Linked DNA regions of Homo sapiens: all the other regions are linked to region 1. The links are contacts of gene promoters, found by promoter capture Hi-C in blood cells and fetal thymus (Javierre and others, 2016). All regions are on one chromosome and are shown on one strand. Each heading gives the region's core, a stretch centred on a gene start or on the middle of the fragment in contact. The rest is flanking DNA. Distances are from core to core; before and after follow the strand shown. Region 1 holds the start of ZNF432 (zinc finger protein 432). Region 2 holds the start of LOC728485 (a long non-coding RNA gene). Region 3 holds the start of ZNF461 (zinc finger protein 461). Region 4 overlaps ZNF585B (zinc finger protein 585B). Region 5 has its middle 4.0 kb from the start of ZNF345. Region 6 overlaps ZNF383 (zinc finger protein 383). Region 7 overlaps ZNF260 (zinc finger protein 260).

The links. The method cuts DNA at HindIII sites, captures the fragments that hold promoters and counts their contacts. A CHiCAGO score of 5 or more calls a contact.
Region 2: a contact is called between a fragment that was not itself captured here and the fragment with the promoter of ZNF432 in region 1, in 1 of 17 cell types (naive CD8 T cells). The highest score is 7.5, in naive CD8 T cells.
Region 3: a contact is called between the fragment with the promoter of ZNF461 here and the fragment with the promoter of ZNF432 in region 1, in 4 of 17 cell types (non-activated CD4 T cells, naive CD8 T cells, total CD4 T cells and 1 more). The highest score is 11.3, in non-activated CD4 T cells.
Region 4: a contact is called between a fragment that was not itself captured here and the fragment with the promoter of ZNF432 in region 1, in 2 of 17 cell types (total CD4 T cells and non-activated CD4 T cells). The highest score is 8.3, in total CD4 T cells.
Region 5: a fragment that was not itself captured here is called in contact with the fragment with the promoter of ZNF432 in region 1 in 2 of 17 cell types (non-activated CD4 T cells and activated CD4 T cells); the score reaches 5.2 in non-activated CD4 T cells.
Region 6: a contact is called between a fragment that was not itself captured here and the fragment with the promoter of ZNF432 in region 1, in 3 of 17 cell types (total B cells, non-activated CD4 T cells and total CD4 T cells). The highest score is 7.2, in total B cells.
Region 7: a fragment that was not itself captured here is called in contact with the fragment with the promoter of ZNF432 in region 1 in 2 of 17 cell types (non-activated CD4 T cells and activated CD4 T cells); the score reaches 5.7 in non-activated CD4 T cells.

Annotation. Positions count from the first base shown.
Region 1 is chr19:52,047,144-52,050,877 of GRCh38, forward strand. It overlaps ZNF432 (zinc finger protein 432), which reads right to left and starts at 1,695. Exons shown (of 5, transcript NM_014650.4): 1 at 1,552-1,695. RefSeq lists an enhancer at 1,478-2,067. The HindIII fragment of the contact is 4,326 bases long and covers 1-2,295 here.
Region 2 is chr19:36,772,715-36,775,993 of GRCh38, forward strand. LOC728485 (a long non-coding RNA gene) reads left to right here and starts at 439. Exons shown (of 2, transcript NR_164117.1): 1 at 439-795; 2 at 2,672-3,279. It overlaps ZNF850 (zinc finger protein 850), which reads right to left and starts at 93. Exons shown (of 5, transcript NM_001193552.2): 1 at 11-93. RefSeq lists enhancers at 1-53, 194-353. The HindIII fragment of the contact is 5,631 bases long and covers 1-3,279 here.
Region 3 is chr19:36,665,073-36,668,649 of GRCh38, forward strand. ZNF461 (zinc finger protein 461) reads right to left here and starts at 1,765. Exons shown (of 6, transcript NM_153257.5): 1 at 1,618-1,765. It also overlaps a transcript of ZNF567 not described here. RefSeq lists an enhancer at 1,942-2,071. The HindIII fragment of the contact is 6,595 bases long and covers 1-3,577 here.
Region 4 is chr19:37,205,007-37,208,389 of GRCh38, forward strand. ZNF585B (zinc finger protein 585B) reads right to left here. Exons shown (of 5, transcript NM_152279.4): 2 at 2,034-2,248. The coding sequence starts at 2,105. Among named protein-coding and RNA genes, the nearest start is that of ZNF585B, 3.8 kb to the right of the region's middle. The HindIII fragment of the contact is 4,710 bases long and covers 1-3,383 here.
Region 5 is chr19:36,845,039-36,848,616 of GRCh38, forward strand. It overlaps a transcript of ZNF790 not described here. Among named protein-coding and RNA genes, the nearest start is that of ZNF345, 4.0 kb to the right of the region's middle. The HindIII fragment of the contact is 5,910 bases long and covers 1-3,578 here.
Region 6 is chr19:37,221,785-37,225,309 of GRCh38, forward strand. It overlaps ZNF383 (zinc finger protein 383), which reads left to right. Exons shown (of 6, transcript NM_001387601.1): 2 at 3,034-3,155. Among named protein-coding and RNA genes, the nearest start is that of ZNF383, 5.3 kb to the left of the region's middle. The HindIII fragment of the contact is 239 bases long and covers 1,176-1,414 here.
Region 7 is chr19:36,515,497-36,519,322 of GRCh38, forward strand. ZNF260 (zinc finger protein 260) reads right to left here. Exons shown (of 3, transcript NM_001166037.2): 3 at 1-203. Among named protein-coding and RNA genes, the nearest start is that of ZNF260, 11 kb to the right of the region's middle. The HindIII fragment of the contact is 3,899 bases long and covers 1-3,699 here.

The DNA of each region.
Region 1 (3,734 bases), core at 445-2,944:
CCAAGGAAACACAAGACCCTCAATGTAGGCCAAATGCCTTTCTTCGGTGAAGTGTGGAAGTAACATGAAGATGAAAGGGGAGGTCACAAAGGAGAATCCACATAGCATCATGCCTAAGCAGTAGGTAATTCTCATATCAGTTTTTTAAATCAGGCCATATGGATGGTGAGAAACTACATTTTTTCCTTTATACAATGTTACTCTCACACCTCTTTAAAAGTCTTTATATATATTTAAAAGTGTTTATATACGGCCAGGCATGATGGCTTACACCTGTAATCCCAGCACTTTGGGAGGCCGAGATGGGCAGATCACCTGAGGTCAGGAGTTCGAGACCAGCCTTGTCAACATGGTGAAACACTGTCTCTACTAAAAATAGAAAAAATTAGCCAGGCATGGTGGCAGGCACCTGTAATCCCAGCTACTCGGAGACTGAGGCAGGAGAATGGCTTGAACGCAGGAGGCGAAGTTTGCAGTGAGCCCAGCCATTGCACTCAAGCCTGGGCGACAAAAGCAAGACTCCATCTCAAAAAAAAAAAAAAAATGTTTATATACACACTTCAATATGAAGAACAAGAAACACATAGAAAAAAAGAGGGAGACAGAGAAAAGGAATACGAGTTATAAATACAAATTTAGAAAACAATTCAAAAATATAAATACTGGGAAAATAGCCGCCTTTATATACTAACATACAAAACCTGAAACACCCATAAAAATATGCAGTACATTTGCAAGAGGAAGGATAAAAATAGGCTCTTGTTAATTTGTGCGCAGTAATTTAAAAACATAATGTTAAATAGAAAGCCTATTCATCCGCCCCCCTTCACCCCCAAAAAACTTTCATTTTCTGCAGGTTCAAGAGCATGGGTTGTTGTGGAAAGCCAGAGGATTAGAAAACTCATTGTGGAGGAGGTACTCGGACCTGAAACTTTTAGGAAATGTTAACGTTCATCAAGTCTGTTCCAGCCAAAGTTTGAGCTCAACACACACACACACACACACACACACACACACACACACACACACACACACACACAAAACCAGCCAGGGCTCTTGTGAAAAGACTTCGGCTTTCACTTGTCTCTAGACAAAAGACCACCACCCCGCCAGATAAAATAGGAAAACCTGGAATAGACACACACGTACACTGGATTCCCTTAATGATTCATCAATCACTAAGCCTCAGATTAATCCAGAATGTGAAACAGAAGTCACATTCGTTGACAAAAGCCACCCCATCGATTCTCAATCACTGAGCCCCACTGGGGAGTGACCCGCGAGGACCACAATCCCTGACCTCAGTACTCTTGGTCGTTGATCTATTCAGGCCTTTAATCACTGACCACCAGAGCCTCCATGAGGGACCCCAAAGATATCCTATCACAGACACCCACCAGGGACTCCTACCAGCTCCCCTCCAAAAGGAAACACCCGCCCCCGCCTCCCCCAACCCCCGCGCTACCTCCACCATATAGCGCCACCAACAACGCAGACGCCCTCAGAAAGCTCCCTCCCACCACGTTTCCACGCCCTGACCCACACACTGACCTGACTCTCCTTGGAATCGCCGCGACCTCTTAAAAGCTGAACTTACTTCCCTAAACTTCTTCCACTTCTGGGCCCCTCGCCCAACTCCCTCCCCCTCTAAACCTCCAGAGACGGTCAGCCGCGTTTCCATGGAGAGCGGAATGCGGCCTTCCGGCTTTTCCTCAGGAGGAGACGCGTCCGCGCCGGCGTCGCCTCGCCGCTCTGGGGGCGGCCATCTTTGAGTACGTGACGTACAGAAGGCACAGCGGCCGGGAGACGCGGTGGACGGAGGCCTCTTAAACTGTCCGATTTCCAGACACCTCAGCCCTGGCAGAAAATGGAGAGCTTATCAGAGGCTTGAGTTCACACAGGCAGACACGGCGTGGGGGTAAAGTCCTCTGAACAGACACGGAACAGAAATAAGTTAGTCTTCTCCTCGCAGGGGACAGTGAACGGCGCAAACTTCTCAAAGGCCAGAACCCATTATTACCACAAAGGCGCGGCATCCCTTCTTAGCGGTTATGATGGCTGTGACGTCTCAGCTCAATGGAAAATTAAAGTCACCTCTGGGCACCTCAGTCACTATTGTAAATGCGAAGCGTTTTAGAAGCCGTATAAAAACTGAAGCAAGAGAGACTAGAACAAAAAATAAGCGAGCGGTGCGTTGCAGGTAACGGAGCCAGAGCCCTTAGGGGAGAGCATCATGGGGGCGGCCATCTTAGGGGACGTTCGGTGTCCGTACGGCAGAACATATTCTCTCTGAGAAGCTTGCGGTGGAACTGGCCCATGGAAATGTCTTTAGAAGAGAAGAACCACCTGGCTCTGTTCTTGACTCTGGAAAAGAATCCTTTTCTAGAATTATTTAGGTTGTTGCCAGATTAATTTCCTTTAGAGAGTTTCCTTGCCCCCACGACTTCCTATCTTTAAAGCCAACAATAGTATGTGAAATCCCTTTCATATTTGAAACCACTGACTATTGCTGCTGCATCTCTCCGGTTTCTCCTATTCTTAAGTGCTTGGGCAATCCAGAATAATCTCCCAATGCTAAAGTCAGCTGATTAATAAACTTAATTACAATGCAGAGTCCTTTTTGCCATGTAACATAACCATGGGAATTACTCTGGGGTTGTAGATCTGGCTATGATATGATGACACTAATGAATATTTTGCAATAAAAACATACTATTTTAAAATATATATATACATATATCTTTATATATGTATATTTCTACAGAATTATTACAAGTTATGTCTTATGATGGTTTCTTATAAGAAGCAAGGAGGAAAAGGTCCTTAACATTTTCAATTGTGTTTTTTTTAATAATAAAGCATGCATTCTAATTTACAAAAACCACAATAAAGGTACTTTCATCATGTCAGTCTTGAGGCTGAACAACACTTAACATTCTTTTTCCTTTTACCTGTCTGCCTTCTCCCTTCCCCTACACTCTCTATACCCCACCCTCCAGGCTCTCTGTTCCATCATCTTATGCGTATGGCCCCTTTCCCCTGTGCCCTCTTATTACTTCCATCTATCACGCAGACACACACTGTCACTCCCCTAAACACTCTAGTGTTAAACAATTGCTGCTGATTGTTTTTTGACAAGTGCCCTATGGGTAGGAGTGTTCACATAAATAAAGTCAAGCCAAATAGAGAAATACTATGAGAATAGACCTATTCAGCAGGCTGCAAAGCAGGCTTAGTAGTGAACATTCTGTGGGGATGGAGGCTTTTGGGTGTTTCAGAGCCATTTCTGCCATTTTCAGAGCCATTTCTACCTCCTCAAGTGCAGATATTCTGCTAGGGTGCAGATATTCACTGTTACTGTTGTTAAAAGGTGGTTGCTTTTCAAGGCTACCTTGAAGCTGAGGATATGGGGATAGGATTAGGGCAAGCTAAATACCACAAGCTCACTGTGGCCGGCATTGTAGACTTAATTGGCCATTCTAGAAGAGGAACTAACTGGCTTCTAGCCAGGGCCTAAAAACTAGATCTAGATAGCCAAAAAGATTACATTAAACTTCCTCTAGTGTCCCATCTATCAGATTCCAATCCTGAAGGACCAAGTCAATCTCTCTTCTATTTCATCTCCTTTCTCCCATCTTATAAAAGATCTTTGGAAAACTCTGTTTATTTCATATATAACAGAGCTGATATTTGTATGTTTTGTGGAGATGATGTTTCATCATGTTGCCCAGGCT
Region 2 (3,279 bases), core at 468-2,967, about 15 Mb before region 1:
GATTCCTCACCCTCAGCATTCTCTGGTTCCGCTCGGGGCCAGCCTAGCCAAGTTCCTCAGGACTCCAAGGCGCGGCGGCAGCTAAATCGGCACAGCAAACGGTCCCGCCACCTGGCTAAGAGGAAGCCAAAATCTCGCGAGACGTGGCGTCGGCCTGCGGGATCCTCTGGGAAATGTAGTCCAGAGCCCGACTGCGGGCTTCCCTATGCCTCTCATTTCCAAGCCTGGCTTGTTTCCTTTTACCGCTCCTCTCCAACGAGGATCGCAGAGCCCTCATGCCGAGCGGCTCGCTATGGGGCCGGCTCGCCCGCTAGAGTGGTCAGGCCTGATTATCCCTGGCAGCTCTGTTATCTGGGGTAAGACACAGGAAAACGTGCTTCCGGTTCTCGGCGGAAGTAGCCCCGAACGGTAGAACCGATGGGAAATGTAGTCCAGGGCAGAAAAGCGGTCAACCCAGCCACGATGCGAGCCAAAGGATTCTTGGCTCCAAGCCTGGTCCTGGCTGTTAGTTTGGAACTCATGCACCCAGATGCTAACTCGCCCTCAGAATGCAGAGGGGATGAAACACTGACCGGACAATTCAATCTGTATATGGGTGAGTCCAGGGCTCAGTCTGCATTGCGCGGAAAATGAAGGTGAAGGTGGAGGTGGGACCTGATGGTCTCGTCCCGGATAGGGTTGAAGAAGTGGGAGAAAAGGAATCAAAATCGTGGATGGGATAAGATTGTGCGCGAATGCTCTCTGGGAGCGGATCGTGGCCGACGAGGGCCCGAAGATGCTGCCTTGTGATCGCAGGTGTGAGTGGAAGCTGTGTGAGTGTCAATGTGAGTTGCCTGTTTGGGAGACCAGCATTGTATTTTTGTATCAGGTAGTAACCTTGGAGCCAGGTATTTGTAAAATTATGATAAGAGGGCATCATTCTGGAGCATCGATTTTATTTGGAGGTTGACAGGAGAGGGAAAAAAACCCCTAATATCTGATAAACAACATAAATAGATTTTTATGTTAAAGTAGTTATATTTATTACGGTCTAGAATGCAAATCCAACATGGCTTTTAAAGCAAGAAAGATTTTTTTTATACAAAGTCAAAGGTATTATTTTTATACACTTACTACAAAACATACAAATAGTATACCAAGCCTAAGAATATAAAGAGTCTAGCTTTAATTAATTGAATGTAAATTTAAAAACAAGCATCTAATAAGTAGTCCTTTTCACACATCGAAAAGCCAATTTCGGAATTTTTTTAAAAACTCAAATTACAAAGTAACAAATATCTGGTGTCTTAGTAACTTGAAGATCAGTACTAATGATTAAGCCAGCTTATATGCTAATATGATACATGAAAAAGCCTGTATTTCACAAATAGCAAACCACTAAAACTTTAATTTTCCACAGAAGCCATTGTTTCACACCAATAATTATGTTAAAGATCAAGACAGGCTAAAAGTTTTTAATGAGCACTGAATCCATTAAAACTTGGCAAATTTTTCCACGAAGGTAGAATTTTAATTTCTGTTTAAACCATGGGTAGATGGTACACCCTTGTGAGGGTGTACTGTAAGTACTTCTAAGGAGCTTTATCAGACTTCATCCCAAATTATGTACCTAGTAAAAGATGTACCAATGTCTACTTTGGAATAAGAAATTATTCCTTGTTTGAGCAAGGATTAAGCAGAAACTGAAAGAAGTGTAGTTTATAGCTTCTTACATAAAGTAGATGGGCACCCCTCAAAAACAAACCAATATCCTGGCTCCTTAAATATCAACATTAATCTAAATAATGTATAGCATGCTCCTGTCCAATCTTTCCCGCTCATTTGTAGTCTTCTCAGATCGATGCTTCATTTTAGTCACACATTTCTATCCTGCAAGACTGGGTACCTGGGCTTTTTGTCTGGTTTTGTAACACTAGGCAGTTTTGGCCTTACTCAAAATATAAGACTGCAAAAGGCCTGTTTTACCTCAACCATACGGCTTCAGGAAATGGTCTGTATTTCCAACAGAAAAGTGGTATCTAACTCTCAGGATGGTTTCTAACAACTGGATAGATACCTGGGTCTTTGCGGCCTGTGATGCAGCCTAACAATACAGGACCTTGTGTGATCAGCTAGGTCTGCTAAAGCAAGGGGACATCCATGTTCTAGATTTTTATTTATTTATTTTTTTTTGAGACGGAGTCTTGCTCTGTCGCCCAGGCTGGAGTGCAGTGGCGTGATCTCGGCTCACTGCAAACTCCGCCTCCCGGGTTCAAGCCATTCTCCTGCCTCAGCCTCCTGAGTAGCTGGGACTACAGGCGCCCGCCACCACGCCCGGCTAATTTTTTGTATTTTTCGTAGAGACGGGGTTTCACCGTATTAGCCAAGATGGTCTCGATCTCCTGACTTCGTGATCCGCCCGCCTTGGCCTCCCAAAGTGCTGGGATTACAGGCGTGAGCCACCTCGCCCGGCCCATGTTCTAGATTTTTTATTCTGGTTTAGCAGGATCCAAACTGCCTGTCCTGAAGAGACTCTCTTTCTCTTCCATACAACGGCTGGCCTCTACCAAGTTAACTGCTTCGTGGGGGGAAAATATTGCCTTTCCTTTGGTCTGCATGTTTTAAGGGAAATACCAAATACACCTACAGGAGTTTATCAATAATAGACAAGGCTGATTTCAAACTCTTTCAGGAGATAAACTGGAGGGGAAGACGAATGGCAGGAGGGTGAAGAGGAAACTGAATTACTGTGCAAACACCCGCCACTCAAATCCGGGTGGTTACTGCAGAGTGAATAACGATAGGTACTATTTCGTGTAAGGCAAAGTCCTTTGAAAGGGCTCCTAGAGCGTCAAGGCCTCCACCTGATGAATGAATGAGTCAGGCAGGCCCAGCTCCACTTCACGGATGGGAAAACTGAGGTACGAGGCCTCGCTGAAAGATGCGAGGCAGAGCGGAGAACCAGAAGCACCACTTCTCTCAGGCTGATGCTCTAATCTCGGCTCCCCCCGCCCCTACAATGGCGTAGACGGCCTCCGCCGCCCGACTCACACACACCCTCCCCCGGGAACGGCAAGTCTCCTCGGGTTCCAAGGACAGGGTCAAAAGACAAGAGGCCCGAGGCGCTCCCGCCGTGATTTGCAGCCAGATACCGTTGGGAGCGCAGCCAGAGAGCGTTGGGAGCGTGCGTACCTCCAGCCCAACATGGCGGCGGCAGCGGCCGCCCCCGACCCCAAGCCCTCCCTCAGGGCCCGAGGCTTCTCCTCAGGGCCTTCCGGTGGGCGGGAAGACAGCGCAACC
Region 3 (3,577 bases), core at 515-3,014, about 15 Mb before region 1:
CCAGGATCAGGGTGCTGAGAACTGCACTGGGTAGATTTTCACTGAATTAAGAGGAAAAAGAAAAGGTAATGAACATTATGAGAAAAGATTAGGGAAACAGAAAACAGACCCAAAAGACCCAGTGTATGTGTAACAGAAATTTCAAAAATAGAGGCTGAAACAACACAGATGGAAGAGAAAAAATAAATAGAACAAAAATTTGCAGACCAAAATAAATTCTTGAGTCTTTAGTTTGAAGTACAGTGCTGTAAGAATTAAAGAAGAATCATACCTGGAAACATCCTGAAAAATATTCTTAAGTTTGTCTTTGAATACAGACAAAAGGACATAAATATCTTTTAGTAAGAAGTTGCAGAGGCCGGGCGCGGTGGCTCACGCCTGTAATCCCAACACTTTGGGAGGCAGATGCGGGCGGATCACGAGGTCAGGGGCTCAAGACCAGCCTGGCCAACATGGTGAAATCCCGTCTCTACTAAAAATACAAAAATTAGCTGGGTGTGGTGGCGGATGCCTGTAATCCCAGCTACTCGTGAGGCTGAGGCAGGAGAACTGCTTAAAACCCGAAGGCGGAGGTTGCAGTGAGCCGAGATCGCGCCACCGCACTCCAGCCACGGTGAAAGAGAGAAACTTCGTCTCAAAAAAAAAAAAAAAAAAAGGAAGTTGCAGAACAATGTGTATTGTGGCCAAATCTCAGAAAAAAAAAATCAAACACATAGGTACATAAGCATACTACATATGTGGTGTTTTTCTGAGGCTGTAATGATAAATGCGGGGTAGCAATGTGATTTTCGCTTGTGTTGTGTGTGTAAATCTACAGCTAACTCCTCAAGTAGTCAGGAAAGGATGAGAGATGGATGAATGACAGATCTCTGGAGTGGGGCGTCCTGAGCCTTAGATGTGTGCACAGGAGCGGGGTGAGGTGAATGTGCGTGTGTCTGTGTGTGAGAGACCAGAGTTGACTGAGAGGAGTGGAAGCTCTCTGCCTGATCGTGTGAGCCTGAGGATAACGTGAATGTTTTTTTGTTTTTTTTTTTTTGAGACAGTTTCGTTTCACTCTTGTTGCCCAGGTTGGAGTGCAATGGCGCGATCTCGGCTCACAGCAACCTCCGCCTCCCGGGTTCAAGCGATTCTCCTGCCTCAGCCTCCCAAGGAGCTGGAATTACAGACATGCACCACCATACCCGGCTAATTTTGTATTTTTAGTAGAGGTGGGGTTTCTCCACGTTGGCCAGGCTGGTATCGAACTCCCGACATCAGGGCATCCACCCGCTTCGGGCTCCCAAAATGCTGGGATTACAGGGGTGAGCCACCGCTCCCGGCCTGTAAATGTGCTTTTTCTTTCACGTAAATAAATGAGATTTACACAAATAGCCATTCACAATCATGGTCACAGTCACCTACAAACCCCATTTACACAAATGATCAGGCACACAATCACACTGTCACTAAAGCACACCCACGCACCAGGTCGCTGTCCCAACAGTAACACACAGCCCAAAGAGAAACCCTACTTCCTCACGCATTCAAAACACACCCACCTAAGGGCTGATCCCGCACTCAGAGGCCTAAAACTATAGACATTCCCTTCCGCGGCACTGGTGAGCCAGGATTTCTTACCTTCAGCATTCTCAGGGAAGGCTCTGGTCCAAGCTCTGATTCGGATTCCAAGCGAAGCCACACGCCCAGCTCTTCCTTCTCCACCGGCCCGGGACATCCTTACCTGCCTCTACCCGGAGACCATTCCTGCGAGGCTCCTACCGGAAGTAGCTGTGGACAGCAGTGTCCTCTGGGAAATGCAGTCCGAGGGGAGAGCGCCTGGGGTGGAGCGGGTGTGTTCCGCCGGGCTCCGGGATGCACTTGCGCAGTTTCACCCGAGGCTGGAGTGACGCCAACCTGTTAATGTTCGTTTTCGGATTCTGGACTTCGGGTTCCGCTGAGGACGGATTTCGGAATAGGCACAGTGGCTGCCCCGAACCCCTCAAGGCGGCCTCCGCGGGCTGTGGCTGAAGATAATTTTCGGCGGGCGCGGACTAACCCGGCTTCCCTTTGTGGAGTTGTGGTGAGAAAGGTGTTTTGTTGTGCGCGTGTCCGAAGGTGACTCCGGAGGAGAAGGTGGATATGAACTGACGGTGAGGGTGTAGCGCGTGAGATTTGTATGTGAAACGATTTAAAAAAAAATTTTTTTTTTGGCCGGGCGCGGTGGCTCACGCCAAGGCGGGCGGATCACCGAGACCAGCCTGACCAACATGGAGAAACCCCGTCTCTACTAAAAATACAAAATTAGCCGGGCGTGATGGCGCATGCCTGTAATCCCAGCTACTCGGGAGGCTGAGGCAGGAGAATCGCTTGAACCCGGGAGGCAGAGGTTGCGGTGAGCCGAGGTCGCGCCATTGCACTCCAGCCTGGGCGACAGAGCAACTCCTTCTCAAACAAACAAACAAAACTGTATGTCATATATTTGACTCCATTTATTTATTTATTTAGAGACAGAGTCTTCTTGCCCTGTTGCCCGGGCAAGAAAAAACAAACAACAACAACAACAAAAAACTGTACGTCATATATTTCACTCAACTTTTTTTTTTTCTTTTTTTTTTTTTGAGACGGAGTCTCGCTGTCGCCCAGGCTGGAGTGCAGTGGCGCAATCTCGGCTCACTGCAAGCTCCGCCTCCCGGGTTCACGCCATTCTCCTGCCTCAGCCTCCCGAGTAGCTGGGACTACAGGCGCCCGCCACCTCGCCCGGCTAATTTTTTGTATTTTTAGTAGAGACGGGGTTTCATCGTGTTAGCCAGGATGGTCTCGATCTCCTGACCTCGTGATTCGCCCGCCTCGGCCTCCCAAAGTGCTGGATTACAGGCGTGAGCCACCGCGCCCGGCCTCTTTTTGAGACAGGGTCTTCATGCCCTGTTGCCCAGGCTGACTGCGGTGGCGCGATCCTAGCTCACTGCAGTCTCCACCTCCTCAGCTCCTCCCGCATCCACCTCCCAAAGTGCTGGGATAGCAGGCGTGAGCCACCGGGTCAGGCCAAAACGATTTATTTTATTTTTATTTTTTTGGTAAAGACAGGGTCTCGCTATGTTGCCCAGGCTGGTGGTCTCGAACTCCTGGGCTCAAGCGATCCTCCCGTCTCAGTGGCCAAAGTATTGGATGACAGGTGTGAGCCACCGCGCTGGGTGGTGAAACGGTTTTGAGGCTTTTTGAGAATGGCTGTTCTATATGCCCGCGTGGGGCTCATGCGGCGAGCGCCGCCACTCCCGCAGTGGCCCCTGTGGGGGTGATACGTGATGTGGCTTAAATGTGAGAGGCCACCTGGACCCGTGTGATTGCCACGTTTGCAGGAGCGCAGCCACGTGCACAGGGATCTTGTGACATTCTGTGTGAGGCTTTTTGCGCTGGGTCCACCCATGATTAGAGGACTAGTGTGACTGTGGCGGCCCCTGAGAAGGGAAGAAGCTGGTTGCGACCAGGAAGGTCTGAGATGGATGAATGACAGATCTCTGGACCAGGGCGTCCTGAACCTTAGATGTATGCATAGGAGCGGTGTGAGGTGACTGTGTATGTTTGTGTGTGAGAGTCCAGA
Region 4 (3,383 bases), core at 125-2,624, about 15 Mb before region 1:
CAAAGTGCTGGGATTATAAGTGTGAGCTACCGCACCAGGCCCAAACTAATTTTTAATTTAATTAAATTTTTTTTTTGGTAGTGACAGGGAATCACTACATTGCCAGGGCTGGTCTTGAACTTCTGGCCTCAAGCCATCCTCCCACCCTGGCTTTCCAGTGTTGGGATTACAGGTGTGAACGACCGTGCCCAGCCAACTGCTGCTGCTTTACCAACTGTAACTTTAGCCTCAAGCTATCCTTCCTATCTTCTAGAATAAAATTATTAAGATACTCAATCCTAAAACTGCCCAAGAGCAACTAAAGTAGAGGTTCACTGAGGTGCAGATGAGACTCTCACCACGTGACTAGAACCCTGAAATGAAATTCCACTACTTCTAATATATCCAATAGAAAGAGAAGGCATGACAATATCCACTGCGATATTGTTCATAATAGTTTCTGTATTTTACCAAACAAACATTAAAACAGCAATGTACAAAAAAGTTAATCTGCTATGCCATTCTGAAATCAAGAGAAAAAAATTGTAGTTGTTTTCATTTGTATACAGAACTAAGCAATCAAAGAAAATGAATAAAGCAGGTTATCACTACCGGGAGACACAGGTAGATGGAAGGCAGAGGTGGGTGAACCACAGTCCCATCTCTTTCACCATAATACTTTTCAATATATTGCTTTTCATATATTTCTAACTTTTGAACTAGGTATATGCATTGCCTATTCAAAAGATTAAACTATTCCTAATAAATTATCACAATATCTTCAGATGGATAAGAAATAACAATACACCCAGGCCGGGCATGGTGTCTCACACCTGTAATCCCAGCACTTTGGGAGGCCGAAGCAGGTGGATCACCTGAGGGTCAGGAGTTCGAGACCAGCGTGGCCCAGATGGTGAAACACCATCTCTACTAAAAATACAAAAATTAGCCAGGCGTGGTGGCTCGCACCTGTAATCTCAGCTACTCAGGAGGCTGGGGCAGGAGAATTGCTTGAACCTGGATGGCAGAGGTTGCAGTGAGCGGAGATCATGCCATTGCACTCCAGCCTAGGCAACAAGAGCAAAACTCCATCAATAAATAAATAAATAAATAAATAATTTAAAAAATAACATTACATCCATGAAATAAGAACGGGATGGCAATAAAAAAAAATTTAGGAAACAGGCTGGGAACAGTGGCTCATGCCTGTAATCCCAGCACTTTGGGAGGCTGAGGTGGGCAGATCACCTGAGATCAGGAGTTCGAGATCAGCCTGATCAACACGGAGAAACCCCGTCTCTACTAAAAATACAAAATTAGCCGAACGAGGTGGCACATGCCTGTAGTCCCAGCTATTTGAGAGGCTGAGGCAGGAGAATCTCTTGAACCCAGGAGGCGGAGGTTGCAGTGAGCCGAGATCATGCCATTGTACTCCAGCCTGGGCAATGAGAGCAAAACTCTGTTTCAAAAAAAAAAAAAAAAATTTTAGGAAACAAACTAGAGTTTTTAAAAATTAAAACATTAAGTTAAAATGTGGATAGTGGTAATGAGAAGCTCAATAGAAGGGCTGGAAGGCAAAAGGTGTCAAAGTTACCCAGAATGGATAGCAGGAAATACATAGAAAATAGTAGAGAAAAGAAATGGAGAAGCAACATCTGAAAAACAAGTTTCAGAAAGAAAACAGAGAAAACATTTGTGTTTGAGGAGGTGGTTTAGGAAGAAATGAAAAAATGCTTTCAAAATCTCAAACAAAAGTCACTTCTAACAAGGAATTCTATTTGCAGCCAAAACATCAATATAGCGTGATGACAAAATCAACAACAGTTTTCCTTGACAGTGCACCTCTCCACTGTCACACAGGTGGCCTCCAGAGACGGAGACATTACCCACGTGTTCATTCTTGACAGGAAGATCAAGTTTTCTTTCAGGAGCACCAAGTCTAGAGTCCAGCTGGTTCCTAAGGCCTGTCTGCCTCTGCCCTAAGGCTGTGGTGACAGATTAGAGCTATCTACTCTTGGACTGAAATTCCACCCCTTGGGACTCCTCCTCCTCACCTCATAGGAGCTGCCATGATCCTCTGGAGCCAGGGCTGAGGATTTCTGGGGTGAGGTCCAACTAGCTGGCATGGCCACACTGGATCTCAACCCTTTTTGTCTAGGGTGCCTGAAGTTTAGTGGTCATCTGTGAACTCAGCAGAGCTGCTCCGAAGAGGTGGGCTGGAGTCTGGAGGAAGGTCTGGCCCAGGGACTCCCCAGAGACACCCAAGAACCTAGAAAAACAATGTCCACGTAGTCATTCAACATTCACTACATAAACACTTCCTGGATACACCAAGGTGCAGGTCCCTGCGCTAGAAACCAGAGCAGTGGTTCCCAAACGTAGGTATGCATTCAAGTCACCTGGAGGGCTTGTTAAAACATAGTTTAAAATTCTCAACTTCACCCCTTCGATGGGTCTAAGGTAGGCCCTAAGAATTTTATTTTCTAATAAGTGCCCAGGAAATGCTGATGCTGCTGGTACAAGAACCACACTTTCAGAACTGTGGAGAACAGTGCTGAAATATGGGAAAAGCCATGAAATTTAGAGTAACATTACTGCAGATTTGAACTGCAGCTGTACCACTTTTCAACAATGAGAATATAAAGAAGTTACTCAGATTTTGTTTCAGAAATAAGGATGAAAATGCCTGTGTCACAGTTACTAAGATTAAATGAGATTATGCTTTTAAAGTACTCAATGCCTCCCTGCCATGCAAGAATCACGCAATAAATATCAGCAATTACCATGCACTATATTAAAACGTAATACAGAAAACCATGTCATCAAAACAAGTAAGATAATAAACATATCAGACAATGTTGATCTATATATGAAATAAAAATGATATGCGATTGAGTGTGCACACGGCATTCATTGTATACATATCCCCAATTGGTGCATGCAATTGGCCATGCATCTGGAATAAAACAAACTAGATCTCCACCTCACACAATATTTTTTTCTTTTAAGATGGGGTCTCGCTCTGTGGCCAGGCTGGAGTGCAGTGACACAACCTCATCTCACTGCAACCTCCACCTCCAGAGTTCAAGTGATTCTACTGCCTCAGCCTCCCAAGTAGCTGGGACTACAGGCATGCGACACCACGCCCAGCTAATTTTTGTATTTTTAGTAGAGTCAGGGTTTCACCATGTTGGCTGGGATGATCTTGATCTCCTGACCTTGTGATCCGCCTGCCTCGGCCTCCCAAAGTGCTGGGATTACAGGCGTGAGCCACCGCGCCCAACCCACCTCACACTATTAAGTAGACAAATTCCAGGAGCACTAAACATTTAAATACATGCATTTTTTAAAACCCCTAAGGATATTAAAATAATTTTCAGACTATATATTTGTATAGCATTGTG
Region 5 (3,578 bases), core at 2-2,501, about 15 Mb before region 1:
CTCCGTCTCAAAAAAAAAAAAAAAAAAAAAAAAAAAGAAATACTAAATGGAGTTTTTCGAGAAGAACAAGATCTCAGATGAAACAGAAAGAAATTTAGGCCAGGCACAGTGGCTAATACTAGTAATCCCAGCAATCTGGGAGGCCAAGGTGGAGGTTCATTTGCATCTAGGAGTTCAAGACCAGCCTGAGCAATATAGCAAGACTTTGCCTCTACAAAAAATCAAAAATTAGCTGGGCGTGGTGGCGCACACCTGCGGTTCCAGCTACTCAGGAGGCTGAGGTAGGAGGATCACTTGAGCCTGGGAGGTCGAGGCTGCAGTGAGCCATGATCATGCCACTGCACTCAACCTGGGTGACAGAGTCCCTGTTTCCAAAAAAAAAAAAAATTAGTAGGGAAAGAATAGCAATAGAAAGAGTAAGTATGTGAATATAAATGAATATTGACTGCACAAAGTAATATACTGCCCTCTGGGGTTTTGAATGTATGCAGAATTAAATAACAAAAATAAAGCAAAAATGAGGATGGAGGTAAATGGAGTTAAAGTGTCCCAAGGTCCTCTAGCAGTATTGGGGAAATGGTAAAGTCAATAATTTGTCCTAGACTAAAAGAAAGAGGAATGCTGTAATCTTTCAGGTAATCACTAAAAGATTTTTAAAAACATGTACAACAAATTGACAGAAAAAATGGATCCACCTTTGGCTTTGCAGAAAATGACAGTGCAATATGACAGCACAAAGATTTATAAAGAACCTAGATTCTTTTTTTTTTTTTGAGGGGGGTGGTGGGAGACGGAGTTTCACTCTTGTTGCCCAGGCTGGAGTGCAATGGCATGATCTCGGCTCACTGCAACCTCTGCCTCCCGGGTTCAAGCGATTCTCCTGCCTCAGCCTACCCAGTAGCTGGGATTACAGGAATGCACCACCACACTTGGCTAATTTTTGTATTTTTATCAGAGACGGCGTTTCACCATGTTGGCCAGGATGATCTCGAACTCCTGACCTCAGGTGATACGCCCATCTTGGCCTCCCAAAGTGCTTGGATTACAGGCATGAGCCACCACACCTGGCCCCAATCTTATCTTTATCTGGAATATGATATATTTCATTTACACATTCATTGTCCACTTCCCCAACTAGAATGGTATACTCTGTGAGGACAGGAAATCTTGGCTGTTCTGTTCACTGATATTTTCCTAGTGCCTAGAATAGCACCTGGCACAGATAAGGAGCTCAATGAGGCCAGGCGCAGTGGCTCACGCCTGTAGTCCCAGCACTTTGGGAGGACGATGCGGGCAGATCACAAGATCACGAGGTCAGGAGATCGAGACCATCCTGGCTAACACAGTGAAACCCTGTCTCTACTAAAAATACAAAAATTAGCCGGGCATGGTGGCAGGCGCCTGCAGTCCCAGCTACTCGGGAGGCTGAGGCAGAAGAATTCTTGAACCCGGGAAGCGGAGGTTGCAGTGAGCCGAGACAGTGCCACTGCACTCCAGCCTGGGCGACAGAGCGAGACTCCGTCTCAAAAAAAAAAAGAGCTCAATGAATATCTGCTGAATGAAGAAATACAATGGTTGACAGGAACAGGAAATAGGAACTTTCATACATTTCTGGTTGGAATAAAAATTAGTTCACCATTTGTGGAAGGTAAATACTTACATAGCCTCTGTGTTCTAACTGCATTTCCTTAGATTCTCTATTAGTCTATTTGGCACTCGTTCATCAAGAGGCCAATTATATTAACTATATTTTCTTATTTTCTGTATTCTTGATGCTCTGGCATTTGGGGACCTTACCAAAAACAGGGAGAGGCTGCTCCTCTCAGGGCTAATTCCTAAAGATAATCACAGTTTTCCAATGAGCACAGCTTACATATGCAAACCAACCAATCCTGAGTCTATACCTCTCTGATATTGTGATGTAATAAGAAATATGTATTTTGGTCTTTATCCATGCCCATGGTTCTTGGTTCATGGGTCCTAAAACCCTTGTAGTTTCCTAAACAGAGTATTTTCTGTTAAAACACTTGTTCTTAGCCAAGTGCGGTGGCTCACACCTGTAATCCCAGCACTTTGAGAGGCCAAGGCAGGCAGATCATGAGGTTAGGAGTTCAAGACCAGCCTGGCCAACATGGTGAAACCCTGTCTTTACTAAAAATACAAAAATTAGCCGGGTGTGGTGGCGCACATCTGTAATCCCAGCTACTCGGGAGGCTGAGGCAGAATTGCTTGAACCCGGGAGGCAGTGGTTGCAGTGAGCCGAGATTGCGCCACTGCACTCCAGCCTGGGCAATACAGTAAGACTTTGTCTTGGGAAAAAAAACAAAACAAAAAACAAAACAAAAACACTTGTTCTTTTGTCCTTGGTTATGTTCTGAATGTGTTCCCCAAAATTTATATAGTGAAACTTAATCGCCAATGTGTTAGATTAAGAAGTGGAGCCCTTCACGCCTGTAATCCCAGCACTTTGGGAGGCCGAGGCGGGTGGATCACCTGAGGTCAGGAGTTCGAGACAAGCCTGGACAACATGGTGAAACCCCGTCTCTACTAAAAATACAAAAATTAGCCGGGATTGGTGGCATGTGCCTGTAATCCCAGCTACTTGGGAGACTGAGACAGGAGAATCACTTGAACTGGGGAGATGGAGGTTGCAGTGAGCCAAGATCACGTCATTACACTCCAGCCTGGGCGACAAAGAGAGACTCTGTCTCAAAAAAAAAAAAAAGAAGTGGAGCCCTTAGGAGGTGATTAAATTATGAGGGAAGAGCCTACATAGATGGAATTAGTGCTTTCAAAAAAAGGATTGAGGGAATGGGTCCAGCCCTTCAGTACCTTCTGACATGTGGGGACACAGCATTCCTGCCCTGTGGAGGATGCAGCAGCAAGGTCCCATCTTGGAATCAGAGAGCAGACCTACCAGACACCTATCCTGCTGGCATCTCAATCTTGAACTTCCCAGCCTCCAGAACTGTGGGAAATAATTTTCTATTATTTACAAATTACTTTTCAGGTATTTTGCTTCTCAGGTATTTTGCTGTAGAAGTACTAAGGGACTAAGACACTTCAGTTCCTGAAATAGCACCAGAGTAATAAATGTGAAAGATGTCTTTACTGTTCATTAACCAACCCCTTTCAACCACAAGTGAGTTAATGAGGTGAAGTTAGTAAAGCCCCTACATAACCACAGGATAGGGCAACCAAACATGTGATTAGAATGTTGGAAAGTTCTGCCCTACCCCATGACTTCTGGGAAAAGGAAAAGGGCTGAAGGTTGAACTCATCACCAATCGCTGCTGATTTAATTAATCATGCCTACATAATGAAGCCTTCATAGAAACACAAAGGGCTGAGTTCAAACAGCTTATTTCCCGGACTACCCCACAGGCGTTTTCTTTTTTCTGTTTTTTAGGAGACATTGGTGGGGTAAACATACAAAAATGTGATTGCCTCACTCAACCAAGAGCCTTAGCCATAATTAAAAGATGTTCAGATGGAGCTGTACAGGAATGTGATGCTGGAGAACTAGAGCAACAGAGCCACATTAGGTATAGATCGCTTGCCTGTATAGTCCAAATTTT
Region 6 (3,525 bases), core at 45-2,544, about 15 Mb before region 1:
AAAAAAAAAAAAATACAAAAAATTAGCCGGGCATGGTGGCGGCCGCCTATAGTCCCAGCTACTTGGGAAGCTGAGGCGGGAGAATTGTGTGAACCCGGGAGGTGGAGCTTGCAATGAGCCAAGATTGTGCCACCGCACTCCAGCCTGGCCGACAGAGCGAGACTCTGTCTCAAAAAAAAAAAAAAAAAAGAAAAAGCATATTCCTTTGACCAGATCTCAAATCTGATAAGGAAATAAAACATAACTGGCATTACAGAAGCCCAAGTCTTGTCCAGTTCACTCACTACCCACTTCTCCTAAAGAGAACTAATAGTTTGTCTTCTATAGCCATAGACTAATTTTACCTATACTTGAATTTTGCTTGGCTTCTTTTTTTTTCACTTTTTTTTTCCTACTGTCAGTTTCACTTGGAGATGATGCTTGGCTTCTTTTGCTCAATATTGTATTTCGTATGTAATATGAATGTATTCTGTAATAATATGTAGTATAAATATATAAAATTCATCCATGTTGCTGCACGTTAGTTATAGGTGATATAATGAATATAGTGAACACATTATTATTGCTGTTTAAAATTCTGTTGTATGAATATAACACTTTTTTTTGTTTTTGAGACAGTTTCGCTCTTGTTGCCCAAGGTGGAGTACAATGGCACCATCTCTGCTCACCACAACCTCCACCTCCTGGGTTCAAGCGATTCTCCTGCCTCAGCCTCTCAAGTAGCTGAGATTACAGGCGCACGCCACCACACCCAGCTAATTTTTTGTATTTTTAATACAAACGGGGTTTCACCATGTTAGCCAGGCTGGTCTCAAACTCCTGACCTCAGGTGATCCGCCCGCCTCGGCCTCCCAAAGTGGTGGGATTACAGGTGTGAGCCACCGTGCCCGGCCGAATATAACACATTTTACTTATCCATTCCATTACTGATTGGCATTTGATTTCATATTGAGGCTGTTATGAAAAACGCTGCCGGGAACATTCTTTTACATGTCTTTTGGTGCACATATGAATGCATTTGTCTTGGGTGTATTTCTAGGAGTGAAATTGCTGGGTCATGGTTTCTGTATATGTTCAGCTCTAATAGATACTGACAGTTTTCTGAAATAGTGGTATCAATCTATATTCCAAACTGCAGTGTAGACTTTATGACAAGAATAGATTTTACAACAAGAAGCTTTACTAGAGATAAAGAGGAATAGTTTATAATAAAAAGATCAATTCACCAGTAAGATATAACAGTTCTGAATTTATATGCCTTCATAAAATGGCTTCAAATATATTTGACATAACTAAAAGAAGTAGTAGATAAATCACAATCTTAGTGGGGAGTTTTTAGCACTCTTCTCAATAGCTGACAGAACAAGTGACAAACCCAATAAAGCTATATGGTATTTGAACAGTGTGATTGACAAGCTTGACCTGATTGATATGTATAGAACAGTGTACCTTACAACTACATAATATACTTGCTTTTCAAATGCATATGAGACATTTATCCAAATTGATCATATGCTGGGCCACAAAGGGAGTCTCAATAAATTTCAAAGGAATGAAATAATACTGTAACTTTCCTGACCACAGTAGGTTAAGCTAGAAGTCAATAACAAGAAGATAATTGGAAATATCCCAGCCAGGTGTGGTGACTCATGCCTGTAATCCCAGCACTTTAGGAAACCGAGGCAGGAGGATTGCTTGAACCCAGAAGTTTTAGGCCACCCTGGGCAATATAGCAAGACCCCATTTCTAAATTTAAAAAAACAAAAATTAAAGAAATATCCCAATGTTTGGGATTTAAGCAATGTATTTATAAATAACTGGTGACTCAAAGAATAAATTGTGATAGATATTTAAAATATTTTAAACTGAGTGATAATGAAAAATAACATACCAAAATTATGTTTCTAAAGCTGAATATGAGGAAAATATATAGCTGTAAATGCATATGTTAGAAAAAAATGAATGTTGGCCGGGCGCAGTGGCTCACACCTGTAATCCCAGCACTTTGGGAGGCCCAGGCTGGTGGATCACGAGGTCAGGAGTTCAAGACTAGCCTGGCCAAGATGGTGAAACCCCATCTCTACTAAAAATACAAAAAAAAGTAGCCAGGTATGGTGGCGGGCACCTGTAATCTCAGCTACTCAGGAGGCTGAGGCAGAGAGTTGCTTGAACCTGGGAGGCAGAGGTTGCAGTGAGCCAAGATCGCGCCACTGCACTCCAGCCTGGGCGGCAGAGTGAGGCTCCATCTCAGAAAAAAAAAAGAAAAAAATTAATGTTGAAAAATTAATGATCTATGTATTCATCTCAAGAAGCTAAGGAAAAGTCTAGAAAGTTAAACCCCCAAAATTAAAATCTAGGAAATAATAAGAATAAAAGCCCAAATATAAAATTTTTAGTTTATTTGGTATTGCATATATTTAAGGTGTACGTGTTTTGCTGTACATAACGAACATATATTGAAATACAAAATGAATGTACAGTGAAGAAAACTAACAAAGGCAAAAGCTTATTTTTGGGAATTAATAAAATTAATAAATCTCTAACAAAACTTAAAATATGAAGTAACACAAAAATTGCCAATATCTGATAAGAGGAAAATTAAACCAACCACAGACTTAACTTAAAGGCTGAGGGCTCAATTAATTAATTAGTGTTTGGTACCTGGGACTTGGTTCCACAAAATAAGCTCATTGGAATCTGAGCCACTGATCATTATACTGGGTCCCTTTTTATACTTCATTGAACATGTAGATTTTTCTGGTTTTTTGTTTTTTTCTTTTTTTGAGAGACGGGCCTCTCACTCTGTCACCCAGGCTGGAGTGCAGTGGTGCAGTCACAGCTCACTGCAAACTCGACCTTCCAGGCTCAGGTGATTGTCCCATCACAGCCTCCCGGGTAGCTGGGACTACAGACAATGTGCCACCATGCCCAGCTAGCTTTTTTTTTTTTTTCAATGATTTTGTTTTCATTTTAATTGTGGTATAAAAGACAATGTAAAATTTACCATCTTAATCTTTGTTTTTTTTTTTTTAGACGGAGTCTCACTCTGTTGCCCAAGCTGGAGTGCAGTGGCATGATCTCAGCTCACTGCAGCCTCTGCTTTCCGGGTTCAAGCGATTCTCTTGCCTCAGCCTCCTGAGTAGCTGGGATTACAGGTGGGTGCCACCATGCCTGGCTAATTTTTGTGTTTTTAGTAGAGACGGGGTTTCACCATATTGGTGAGGCTGGTCTTGAACTCTTGACCTCGTGATCACCTGCCTTGGCCTCCCAAAGTGGTGGGATTACAGGCATGAGCCACTACGCCTGGCCATCTTAATAATTTTTTTTTTGAGATGAGTTTTGATCTTGTTGCCCAGGCTGAAGTGCAATGGTGCGATCTTGGCTCACTGCAACCTCTGCCTCCCAGGTTCAAGTGATCTCCTGCCTCAGCCTCCCGAGTAGCTGGGAATACAGGCATGTGCCACCAAGCCCAGGTAATTTTGTATTTTTAGTAGAGACAGGGTTTCTCCATGTTGGTCAGGCTGG
Region 7 (3,826 bases), core at 500-2,999, about 16 Mb before region 1:
TTGTATATAAATTAGGTTTCAAATTCTTTTAAACTGAGTTCCATACACAGAAGGGTAGTCTTGAAGAATCAATGACTGTTCAGAGGAAATACTTTGTTTCCTAAATTTTCCCTCAGTCTGTCTTTTCACAGAGAAAGATGAGACTTAACTTACAAGTCTTTCATGTTGCGTCTTTATCTGTTTATAAACTTCCCAGGCTTCTTCTAAAAGGAAGTACAAAAAAATCATAATTGAAAAAGTTAATATAATATATAGTGCCTGGCATGTAATAAGCGTCCAATAAATTAGGTTATCATTATCATCAACATAATATCACTAACACCTTTGAAGTTTCCCATTATTAATATAATTTCAGAAATGTATTACTGTAAAATAGATTCTTTTTTTTTTTTGAGATGGAATTTCGCTCTTGTTGCCCAGGCTGGAGGGCAATGGCGCGATTTTGGCTCACCGCAACCTCTGCCTTCCAGGTTCAAGCAATTCTCCTGCCTCAGCCTCCCGAGTAGCTGGGACTACAGGAGCCCGCCACCATGCCTGGCTAATTTTTGTATTTTTAGTAGAGGCAAGGTTTCTCCATGTGGGCCAGGATGGTCTCAAACTCCCGACTTTGGGTGATCCGCCCACCTCAGCCTCCCAAAGTGCTGGGATTACAGGCATAAGCCACTGCGCACGGCTGTAAAATAGATTCTTTATCCAAGCCTAGTCTCATTATAAAATAAAGTTCAAATACAAATAACATTCCCAGGTATGTGTAATTTTAATTGCTTTTCAATGTAACCCAGCACACTTCATAAATCAGTAAAATGAGAGAAAATAAGGCTAGGTATGGTGGTTCACACCTATAATCCCAGCACTTTGGAAGGGTGAGGCAGGAAAATTGCTTGAGGCCAGGAGTTTGAGAGCAGCCTTGGTAACACAGCGAGACTCTCGTCTCTATAAAAAATTTAAAAACTAGCCAGGCATGGTGCCTGTAGTCCTAGCTACTGAGGAGATTGAGGTGGGCAGATTGCTTAGGCCCAGGATTTCAGGGCTGCAATAAGCTATGATCGTGCCAGTGTCTGGGTGACAGTGCAAGACTCGGTCTTTTATTTTATTTTTTTGGGTCGGAGTCTTGCTCTGTCGCCCAGGCTGGAGCGCAGTGGCATGATCTCGGCTCACTGCAAGCTCCGCCTCCTGGGTTCACGCCATTCTCCTGCCTCAGCTTACTGAGCAGCTGGGACTACAGGCGCCCACCACCATGCCCTGCCAATTTTTTGTATTTTTAGTAGAAACGGGGTTTCACCACGTTGGCCAGGGTGGTCTCGATCTCCTGACCTCGTGATCTGCCCGCCTTGGCCTCCCAAAGTGCTGGGATTACAGGCGTGAGCCACTGCGCCCGGCCGACTTGGTCTTTAAAACATAAGGAATCGGTGAGAAACAGGATGAAAGGACAAATACTTAAAAGACTGGGAGTGCATAGGAAGACAGGGCAAAAATAAAATGAACAGAAAAGTTTAAATAAGGTGCTTATTTCTATGTCTTCCCGAAACACCATTAAAATGACAGTAAAAGGGTGAAGAAGGACACATAAGAACTAAACGGTTAAGAAGATATCAGTGGACAAAAAGTATTAGGAGGACTAGGGATAGTGGCTCCTTCCTGTAATCTCAGCACTTTGGGAGGCCAAGGCAGGAGGACTGCTTGAGGCCAGGAGTTTGAGATCAGCCTAAGCAGCACAGCAAGGCTTTATCTCTACAAAAATTTTAAAAATTAGGTAGGTGCAGTAGCATACACCTGTAGTCTTAGTTACTTGGGAGGTTGAAGTAGGAGGATCGCTTGAGCCCAGGAGTTCGAGGCTGCAGTATGCTATGATCATGCCATTGCAATCCAGCCTAGGTGACAGAGTATGACCTTGTCTCTAAAAAAAAAAAAGTATTAGGAAATTTTGGAAAGAAAGCAAATAGAGAACTGTAAATTAACAGCAGAACTGAGTGGTTTAAAGAAAAGCCAGCAGATGTGGGGGCCACCTTCACAGGTCTGTAACACAGATATTGACAGATATGCTCTGTCAGTGGAGAAACTGGGCAAGAGTGGAAGGCAGGGCTTACAAAATGACTGTGAAAGGACCAGCTAATGCCCTGAACTCTCCTAGCTGGACAGAAATGTGAAGTTTATCATCCAGACAAAACCAAGAGGCTCCAAATTTAGTGATGACCAGCAAAGTAATGAGAGCATCCTAGTAAGAGAAGAATGAGTAAAAGTTTATACACATAACAGAGGCTCTTCTACTGTTAGAGTCCGAGAATGCTGGTGGTTACTAGCTGTCAGATGATGGAAGAATTATTTTCTTTTTTCTTTCTTTCTTTTTTTTTTTTTGGGACGGAGTCTCGCTCTGTTGCCCAGGCTGGAGTGCAGTGCGATCTCGGCTCACTGCAACCTCTGCCTCCCGGGTGAAGGGATTCTCCGGCATCAGCCTCCCGAGTAGCTGGGATTACAGGTGCCCGCCACCACGCTCGGCTAATTTTTGTATTTTTAGTTAGAGACGGGGCTTCACCATGTTGGCCAGGCTGGTCTTGAACTCCTGACCTCATGATCCACCCGCCTTGGCCTCCCAAAGTGCTGGGAATACAGCCATGAGCCACCGCACCCGGCCCGGAAGAATTATTTTCTGAAAAAATGAGAAGACCATGAGAACACCTACAGATGCTAACATTTGGAATCATCTAACGAAACACATCTATATTACTGATTGATGCACAGTGAAAACCACCATTTCATAAGCCCCGCTTACATACACAAATTAATATAGAGCTAAAGATCAGAAAACATTTGATGAAAGTCCTAACATCAAAGGCAGATCAAACAAAATACAAGGCAAAGAGCAGAAAAACTCACCCATATAATACTACAATTAATATCATGGAAAGTTAGGAGATTACTATTATCACTGCAATGAAATATTAACAGTGTTCTATAAAGAGGTGTTTTTAGAAATAAACAATATGAAATTGATCTTAAAAATTCAGTATGTTGGGGAAAGAAAGTCTAGAAAATCTCCTAGAATAAAAAAAGGAAGAATGGAGGAAGGCAGAAAGAAAGAGTGTAATGGTTGGAACATTTAGTGGGTTAGTGGAAGAATCTGGAAGGATCAGCATCTACTAAAGAAGTTCCAAAGAAAGTATGAAGAAAAATGAATACAGGACATTTTCAAAGAGCTAATAAAGAACACTTCCCAGAATTACAAATCATGAGTCCACATACTTAGCAGGCCCATTGAGTACAAAGAACATTCCATTTAAAAAGATAGCGGCGAAAGCACATCAATACAAAATTTCACCTAGGGATAAAAAGAGGATCCTAGTTTGAGACCGGCCTGTGCAACACAGTGTGATCTTGTCTCTACTAAAAATAAAAAAGATTATCTGGGTGTGGTGGCATATACATGTACTCCCTTCTACTTGGGGAGGCTGAGATGGTACGATGGCTTGAGCCCAGGAGAGTGAGCTATGATTACCCTACTGAACTCCGGCTTGGGCAAGAGTGAGACCTTGTCTTAACAAAAAAAAAAAATCCTAAATGTTCCAAAACATTTATCCTATAAAAGGAAATAAAAGAAAAAGACATACCACATCAAAAAGGCATCAGATTGCAAGACAATGGATAATCCTAACCATAAGTTACTTCCAACTTAGACTTCTAGGTTTTACAGTTCTGTCTGAAAGCTTGGGAAGAATCAAAACACAAAAATGGAAAACTAAGCAAACAAAACAAAGAAGCAAATATTAATTAAAAGAAAAGCAAAAGGTTATACAAGAAATCAAACAGAGTCATAGAAAATCATTTGGTT